3 separate regions of the Homo sapiens genome follow, and regions 2 and 3 are each linked to region 1. The links are contacts of gene promoters, found by promoter capture Hi-C in human tissues and cell types (Jung and others, 2019). All regions are on one chromosome and are shown on one strand. Each heading gives the region's core, a stretch centred on a gene start or on the middle of the fragment in contact. The rest is flanking DNA. Distances are from core to core; before and after follow the strand shown.

What was found. Contacts are between HindIII fragments. The study calls those that stand out against the background at their distance.
Region 2: a fragment that was not itself captured here is called in contact with the fragment with the promoter of KCNK7 in region 1 in 1 of the 25 tissues and cell types used here (stomach).
Region 3: the fragment with the promoter of RASGRP2 here is called in contact with the fragment with the promoter of KCNK7 in region 1 in 1 of the 25 tissues and cell types used here (spleen).

Annotation. Positions count from the first base shown.
Region 1 is chr11:65,594,339-65,597,280 of GRCh38, forward strand. It overlaps KCNK7 (potassium two pore domain channel subfamily K member 7), which reads right to left and starts at 1,462. Exons shown (of 3, transcript NM_033347.2): 1 at 1,116-1,462. The coding sequence starts at 1,434. The HindIII fragment of the contact is 18,543 bases long and covers 1-2,942 here.
Region 2 is chr11:66,122,760-66,125,819 of GRCh38, forward strand. The region is part of intron 1 of PACS1 (phosphofurin acidic cluster sorting protein 1); the gene reads left to right. Among named protein-coding and RNA genes, the nearest start is that of PACS1, 54 kb to the left of the region's middle. The HindIII fragment of the contact is 8,035 bases long and covers 1-3,060 here.
Region 3 is chr11:64,742,590-64,745,542 of GRCh38, forward strand. RASGRP2 (RAS guanyl releasing protein 2) reads right to left here and starts at 1,553. Exons shown (of 17, transcript NM_001098671.2): 1 at 1,414-1,553; 2 at 205-348. The coding sequence starts at 277. RefSeq lists silencers at 220-549, 860-909, 1,070-1,119, 2,110-2,219, 2,470-2,669. The HindIII fragment of the contact is 18,641 bases long and covers 1-2,953 here.

The DNA.
Region 1 (2,942 bases), core at 212-2,711:
AGGCGGGGAGGGGTGGGAGTGCGGGGTGTGCTGGGAGAACAGGATCAGCTAATACAGAGCTGCAAACGCACATGCCTACCGGAGCCAGATGGGAGACAAACAGGAGTGGTGGGGACAGGGGTACACTGGAAAGTGTGAGCTGTATCCAAAGGGCAGGCCCCATTCTGCTCCAGTCAGGATGTTGCCTTGCAGGGATTCTGGCTCAGTGTGAGTGGGTTTCCTGATTTTCCAAAAGAAGTTGGAAATATGAGCTGGGCACAGTGGCTCACACCTGTAATCCCAACACTTTGGGAGGCTGAGGCAGGTGGATCACTTGAGGTCAGGAGTTTGAGAACAGCCTGGCCAACATGGCAAAACCCCGTCTCTACTAAAAACACAAAAATTAGCCGGGCATGGTGGTGCATGCCTGTAGTCCCAGCTACTCAGGAGGCTGAGGCAGGAGAATTGCTAGAACCCGGGAGGTGGAGGTTGCAGTGAGCCAAGATCGCACCACCGCACCCCAGCCTGGGTGACAGGGTCAGACACCGTTTCAAAAAAAAAAAAAGTTGGAAATACAAATTCCAATTCAAAAAATACTGAGACACTTTGTGGGGCAAAAAATACGAAAACCCAGGGCTGTGGGTCTCATTGCTGCTTTTCCCTGGGCCTGTGCCCACGCGATTTCTCTGCAGGACTCCCTCATCCCTGTCTGTGCCCTCCTGATCCACAAGCATCTCATGCCGACTTCCTCCCCTATCTTCCCTCACTCCCCCACCCGAGGCCATGGTCCTGATCTGTCCTTCCCAGGTTCATTCTATTTGCTTCCATCCAAGAATCCATCCCACTGTATTGTATCCCCTATCTGGCCACAGGCTGTGGCATCTGGGCAGCTCTCCTGGGTCTCAAAGGGTGCCTGGGGTGGGACTGGGGAGGCCACACCCTTCCTGGCAGTTGAAGTGGAGGCACCAGTTGGGGTGTGTTGGTGGGGAGCCCCAGCTGTGATGTCAGGCCTCACAGGGCCTGGGCTCCATCTGGCTCTTTGGGGCTGAAGGAAGGGCTGCATGAACCCCAAAGCCCCCAGGGAGCCATGGCCTCTTGGAGCCGCACCCCCCGACTTGGCTGCCTGGCTCTCTTACCTGTGGTGGTGAGGATGCTGGCAGCGAAGAGCAGGGCTGAGGGAAGGTCCCAGGTCCTGCCCTCTGAGCTGTTGCCCAGGGTGGAGACCCCATGGGCCTGGGTGGCCAGGGCAGTGCCCAGCAGCTCTTCCAGAGCTCCGGGTGGCAGGCAGGCCCTATGCTCTGCCTGGAAGGCTGCCAGCTCTGCCCTGAGCTCAGCCTGAAGCCTGCATGCAGGAGGCCCCTCCAGGGCCTGGAACACCACAGCCCCAAGCCCCAGGGCCAGCAAGTGGGCCACAACCAGGAGCCCGTATCGGGACCAGGGCCTTAGACCCCCCATGGCAGGCCGCTGGGGTGCTGTGGGAACTGGCGGCTCCACCTCAGGCACCTGGGAGGGGCTGGGCAGGGCGGGGCCAGGAGGAGGTGCTGTGTGGGTGGCTGGGACCCGGCTGGGATGGCTGGGGTGGCTGGGGTGTGAACAGGAGGGAGGTGAGCTGCATCACCCTTCCCAGGTCCTGGAGGCAAGACATTTGCCCATTTCACAGCAGCTGGGATGGTGGGGATGGGTGGAGGAAGGCGGCTGCGGTGAGGGGAGGAGGCGGAGGAAGCTGAAGCCTAGAGAGGACCTCACACTTATTCAAGGTCCTGCTCACTCAGGCACCCATACCACATTCATTCATTCATTCATTCATTCAAGTGCTTAGGGAAGAGGACAGGCACAGGTCCTTTCCTTCCTGGTGTTTACACAAGAAACCTCTTAGCAAAGAAACATGGCAACCTCACATTGTCATGAGTTCCATGAAGGAAACACCCTGGGTGATGGGAGAGCTCTGCGGGGAGCGGGGGGGTTATCTCACTGGGAAAGCTCTGCTAAGGAGGTGATATTTCAGCTGGGGAGTAAGAGGCCAGTGAAGGTAGGAATGAGCTTGGGGTGTGAGAGGAACAGAGGGCTGGCTGTGGCAGGGGAGAGTTGGGGGTGAAGGGGGGATAAGGACACAGGCCCTTGAGGATAAATGTGGTCCAGGGAGACCTACGCTGGGCTACTGTAGGCGTCATGGATGGAGTGATTTTGGCCTGGGTGGTGTGGTGGGAGAGGAATGGTGGCAGCTGGGAAGGATCAGGTGGGGGTGGGAGGTGGGGAGAGGACTCCAGGGTGCCCAGAGCACCCGGGCAGATGATACCCTTGCGCCCGATTGCCAGTTCTTCCTGAGAACGCTTTGTGCCTGCCCTCCTGACTCCCTGCCCCTGAACTGCAGACACAGAGTCTGGGCTGCCATGGGGCACCTGGGAGAGGGGAAGGGGGAGCCTGGGTTCCAACTCCTCTAACGTCAGAGGGGCTGAGGACAGAGGCCAAGGAAGGGACCCAGCCCTAGGGTATGGTGTGGGAGTGCCAGAGCCCCCATGGCAGTGTGAAGAGAATGGACAGAGGCCGAGGGAGGGACCCTGCCCTAGGGTATGGTGTGGGAGTGCCAGAGCCCCCATGGCAGTGTGAAGAGAACTGTCAGGGGTGCCAGATGCCATGGCAAGTCACCATACTGGGAGGTGGGTGGAACTTACTACTCTTTTTTTTGAGATGGAGTCTCGCTCTGTCGCCCAGGCTGGAGTGCAGTGGTGCAATCTCGGCTCACTCAACCTTCGCCGCCCGGGTTCAAGCTATTCTCCTGCCTCAGCCTCCCAAGTAGCTGGGGCTACAGGCACCTGCCACCACGCCTGGTTAATTTTTGTATATATATATATTTTTTTCAGTAGAGACGGGGTTTCACCATATTGGCCAGGCTGGTCTCAAAATCCTGACCTTGTGATCTGTCCGTCTCGGCCTCCCAAAGTGCTGGGATTACAGGCGTGAGC
Region 2 (3,060 bases), core at 465-2,964, 530 kb after region 1:
GATAAAATTTGAACAGATGTTTCTTGTGGATGAGCAGAGAAAGTGGTTTCTTGAGATGGGACCTACTCCTGGTAAAGATGCTGTGAACACTGTTGAAATGATAATGTATTACAATAATTTATAACAATAACTATGTATTACATAAACTTAGTGATAAAGCAGCAGTAAGGTTTGAGAGAACTGAATCCAATTTTGCGAGAAATTCTGCTGTGGGTAGCATGCTATCAAATGTATTGCATACTTTAGAGAAATCTTTAATGAAAGGAAGAGTCAGTGTGACAAACTTCATTGTCTTATTTTAAGAAATTGTCACAGATACCCCAACCTTTAGCAGTCACCATCCTGATCAGTCAGCAGCCATCAACATTGAGGCAAGACCCTCCACCAGGAGAAAGATTGCAACTTGCAGAGGGCTCAGAAAATTGTTAGCTTTTTTTTTTTTTTTTTAATGAGACGGAGTCTTGCTTGGTTGCCCGGGCTAGAGTGCAGTAGCATGGTCTTGGCTCACTGCAACCTCCGCCTTCTGGGTTCAAGCAATTCTCCTGTCTCAGCCTCCCAAGTAGCTAGGATTATAGGCACGTGCCACCATGTCCAGCTAATTTTTGTATTTTTAGTAGAGACAGGGTTTTGCCATGTTGGCCAGGCTAGTCTTGAACTCCTGACCTAAGGTGATCCACCTGCCTCGGCCTCCCAAAATGCTGGGATTATAGGCGTGAGCCACCACGCCTGGCTCAATAAGCCATTTTTATTTTTTTATTTTATTTATTTATTTATTTTTTTGGGACAGAGTTTCGCTCTGTCGCCCAGGCTAGAGTGCTGTGGCGTGATCTCGGCTCACTGCAAGCTCCACCTACCGGGTTCATGCCATTCTCCTGCCTCAGCCTCCCAAGTAGCTGGGACTATAGGCACCTGCCACCGCGCCCGGCTAATTTTTGTTGTTTTTAGTAGAGGTGGGGTTTCACCGTGTTAGCCAGGATGATCTCGATCTCCTGACCTCGTGATCCACCCACCTCAGCCTCCCAAAGTGCTGGGATTACAGGCGTGAGCCACCGCACCCAGCCCATTTTTAAATTAAAGTATATACTTTTTTTTTTTTTAAGACAATGCTATTGCACAGTTGATAGACTACTGTATAGTGTAAACATAACTTTTATATGCACCGGGAAATAAATAATTTCATGTCACTTGCGTTATTGCAGTGGTCTGGAACTAAAGCCACAATATCTCCAAGGAACTGTTTACTTGCTGTCTCGCTATCAGACTGTGAGACTGTCAAGGGCAGGCATTCTGCGCAGCTTTGGCAATACCGTCTAGTTGTAAAAAAGACGGAACTGTTTCAGGCCATGGGCATTCTAGTGGGAAGACAAATATTTAATCTCAAGTGTGCAAAATGCTGCCATAGAACAGGAGTGCAGTGGAGCATAATAGGAGCTCTGGACCTTGTCTGAACACATAAAAGAAGCCTTTTTCCTAAGGAGTGATTGCTTAAGTTGAAACCTGAAGGATGTGTGGGAATTAGCTAAGTGAAGAGAAGGAAGAGTTCCAGGCAGAGAAAACTGTGGACATAATGGCTTTGGGCAAGTTACTCAGCTTCTTCTCTGCTTCAGTGTCTTCATCTATAAAATGGGAATAATATAACCTAGAGTTATATAGTTAGGGTTGTTGTGATCATAAAGACAGTATTTTAAGTCATCATCTTCTAATATTTCTGAAGTGGGGCATAATTGGTTCATTCAGGATAACTTCTGGGTCCACGTTTATGTATTGAATGGCTAAATGTATGGATCTGCTTACTGCACTTTAACCTTGTTCTTTACCTGCTCTGAAGCCTTTCTTGCATTTTAATGACAAGAACGGTGTATTTTGCCTTTCAGTGAGTTTGTTAATTATGGAGATCAAACTCTGCCTTTCATTACTGCATAAGTCTCATGGTGTGTCAGACATCTTAGGTCAGTGTGTGTCATCAGTTAGAATGCTTTCACCTTCAAGAAACAGAAAAGCCAGCTCAATGACTTAAACACACAGATGTTTATCATTTCAGAAAACAAAAGTCTGGGGCAAGGGTGAGTCCAGTGCTGGTTAACTGAGCAGCCTGGCAAAGGCATCAAGGAGCCAAGTTCATTTTGCCCTCCTGCTTTGTCATCCTCAGTACAGGCTTGCCCGCTGGCTCCCCATGGTCTCAGGTGGCCTGTCGCAGTTCCAGGTGCCACAGGGAGACACCAGAACATCCCATTGAGGAGGAGGAACTGTTTCTTTCCATGTCTGTCTCTTTATTGATGAACATTTGGGTGGCTTCCACCTTTTGTCCATTGTGAATAATGCTGCTATGAACATTGGTGAACAATAAATTCTTTTTAAAAATACAGCATCTAGGGGCTAAGCTATGAGGATGCAGAGGCATAAGAATGATACAATGGACTTTGGGGACTCGGGTGAAAGGGCAGGAGGCAGGTGAGGGATAAAATACTGCAAATTGGGTACAGTGTATACTGCTTGGGTGTTGGGTGCACCAAAATCTCAAAAACCTACGGAAATAAAAAATTAAAGTACCACATCAATTAATGCGTAGACCAAATCTTATTGCAATTAAATTTCTACTTTTAGCATCATTTGCTACAATGAAGTTCTAGTATTTGAAATATTTTGAGCCACTGACTTGCTGTTTAATGGGATTTGATCCCATAGTAAAGAAGATATAAACCAAGTAAGTCAAAAGGATCTTAGAAGCAATTTTATTCCATCCTCTATTTTGAAGATGTTCTGGATTCAGAGTGATTTTCCAGGGTCAGAGAGCTAAGTCATGTTAAATAATTCAAAGTGTATGAAAATACACATTACTCACAGATTCAAGTAGAGTAACCAGGGGTGTCTTTTGCCTCTAGTCTTACTCTAACCAGTGTCTAACTATGCCTGTGTAGATAAAATAAAATAGAAAACTGGGATAATTCAGGTATTCAAGTAATTGAAGAAAATCAGTCCTGTTTAAAATATCTGGGCAGGCCGGGCATGGTGGCTCATGCCTGTAATCCCAGCACTTTGGGAGGCCGAGGCAGGCAGATT
Region 3 (2,953 bases), core at 303-2,802, 850 kb before region 1:
TAGAGAAGGGAAACCTCATCTGTCTGAAGGGCGTGCATCTCTCTGCCCTGCGTTGCGGAGGAGGCTTTCGTTAAAGAGACTGCACGCTGCGGAGCAGGGTGGGTCCGGGTCAGGGCTGTGCCCTGGACTGTGCCTGGGAGGCAGGGACCCGGGCTCAGACTCGGGGCTAGGCTCAGGCTCCGTGTGCCCTCCCGAGCCACTCACCGAAGGCTTCGATGCACCCGCGGAGCAGCTCCTCCACCGTGCAGCCCTTGTCCAGGTCCAGGGTGCCTGCCATGGCCGCCGGCGCGGGGTGGGCTGGGCCCAGGCTGCGCTCCGGGAGCCTCCCACCGGGCTCGGACCGAACCCCTGTCCCGGGAGAGGCAGAGCGGGAGTCTGCGGAGTCGCGGGCGGGGGAGCGGCCCCGCGGGCAGAAACGGGGCGGGGCGGGCACGCCCCCTGCTGGACAGGGGCGGAGTTGTCCCCCGCGGCCACTCCCGGGGTTAAACGGTCTGGCCCGGGATGGTGCAACCCGCCAGTTGGGAAACGGACCCGCAGAGAGGCTTCCGGCCCACCCTCGGAGTCGCGGGAAGGCCGAGGGGCTTCACGAGGATGGGGACGAACCAAGATCCCAGGACTGGCTGGCGCCCAGCCCCCCGCAGGGCGCCTTCTCCTCGCGCCCTCTCCCCAGAGGCACCTGCAGCACCCCGCAGCTCGGCTCTGCGCCCCTCCCGCTTCCCTCCCTCCACAGCCTCCCTTCCCCCGCAGGGTTATTTTGGGAACCCAGAGCCTGAGGGGACCTCGGAGGAATTTCTCCCTGGTATGGGAGGTGGGGGGAGAGAACCCAGGCGTCCTGCCCGCCTCGCCCCCTCCCGGGAGCCCAGGAAGGCGAGGCGGGGCTGCGGCAGCCCCCAGGGGGCCTGCCCTAGGGGAGGCGGACTGGATGGGAGAGGAACATTCCTGGGGCGGGGGGAGCCCGCTGCGGCCAGGAGGCGTCAGCGGGAAGCCTGAGCCTGGGAACTGAGCGCTCCCAGGCCACCTCCGCAAAGGTCCCAGGGGTCCCGGCTCAGCTTGTCCACAGGCCCTCTTCCTCCCTATCCCCGGCTCCTGACCCTGGCCCCGGCCCCGCACAGGCGAACTGTGAGCGCGCACGGAGCAGGGTGTCCAGAGGGGGGCGCTCGCGCCAAGGGTGGCCGGTGGGTGCATGACACCATTAGCAACTCCGGTCACTGGCGGGGTCATACGCACCCTGGCAGGGGCAAACACTCCACACCCAAGTTATTCGTCGGAGGCCGGGGACCTAAGTGGAGGTGCAGGCGTCCGCACTTACACGCACCGGGCCACAGGCACCGGCCTCCCATCCTCCGTCTCTCACACACAATGGCACCCACACCCTGTGCACACCTGCACGAAGAAACCCTCAGGCACACATACCCAGCTCGTCCACCCCAGAATGCAAACCCGCGGACGAGGTCGCCTCCTGGACGTGCTGTTCACTTGAGCCAGGCCAGCCTTGAGTCCCGCGGCCACACAGGCGCTGACATCCTCACACGTGTGCACACACGCAAGGCAGTGCCTCTCCACGCATGTACACTCCCACACACATGCACACACCCCCATGGGTGCGCACGCCCATTCCGTCGCCCCCCTCCCATTTGCGGTGCAGGGCCCGCCCTGCGGCCCCAGCTCCCTGACTCCCCTCACTCCCAGATTTTGGCAGAGCCTTGCCCCACGGAAAGGTACCCCGGCCCTACACATACTCACTCCCCCAGGCTGGAGGACAGGGGAGCTCCTGTACGGAGTTCTCAGGCGGACTTTTCCTAAGAGCCACCCAGAGCCGTCCCCGCCTGGCTCTACCGCTTCCTCGTGTGACCTTGAGAATCACTTGGCCTCTGGGAGCCTCAATTTTCTCATCTGCCAAATGGGGGTACGCGGGGGAGGGCCCCGCTGGAAGGTGGCTGGGAAAAGCTGGGTGCACCGTGGAGGTCCTCCGCCCTCCGGGGATCCAGCGCGCCTTAGCTCTCGTGGCCGCTGCCCCCTCTCCCAGACCCGGGCCGCAGACTCCCCACCCGCTCGCCGCCCCCAGCCCGCCCGCGCCGCCCTGGGCGGGGGGGGAGTCGCTGGGGGCCGCGCCCTCCTTCGCCTGGCGCCCCGCCCGCGCTCGCCCACTCACTCTTGGGACCTGCCGCAAGGAGCCCGCACCGGCCTGGCCGACCCCACCTCCGTGCGCTCCCGCCCGCCGGCCTCGCTGCGGCTGCGGCTCCCGCCCGCTCTCCACGCCGCGGCCCCGCTCCCCGCCGCCCCGCCCCCGCCCCCGCGCCAGGCTGCCCCCTCCCCCCTCCGCCCCTGCGCGGAGCTCCGCACCGCCGGCTGCGCCACCCCCACCGGGGGCTCCCTCTCGCCCCGCACGCGGCGGTCCCTGCGGCAGCTTAACCCCTCCCCTGCCGCGCCGCCCGGGAGGCCAGGGCCGCGGGCGGGGGGCTGCGCCACTAGCTGCCCCGAGGGCGGGCGACCGGAGGCCCCGCCGCCCGGGACGCGGAGGGGGGACCGAAACGAAGAGCCCCTCCCCCAACCGCGGACGCCCCAGTGCCCCCCGCCCTGCCTGGGTGTCGGGCGGAGGAAGCCGGGAGGGGCAGGAAGCGGACTGCGGTGGGGAAGGGGCGCCCCGCCCAGCCCCCAGCTCGGGTTCCTGTTTTCGAGACAAACCGTTCCCATGGGGCTAACCCGGCCCGGGACCGGGCGTCTTCCTGCAGGCAGCGGGTGGCACAGGCCTAGTGGAGGTCGGGGGCGTGGGGACAGCTGGTCCTTGAGATAGTCTGGGGGATGGGCTAGGACAAGATGGGAATATTTTGGGGAGAGGGACCTGTGGGGAGCGAGGAATGAAATCGTGGCTATCTGGAGACGCGGCCTTGATGTCTGGGAATGGGGGCGGGGGGCCCAGTTCACACAGGAGGAACGGGGCCCCGGAAGCCTG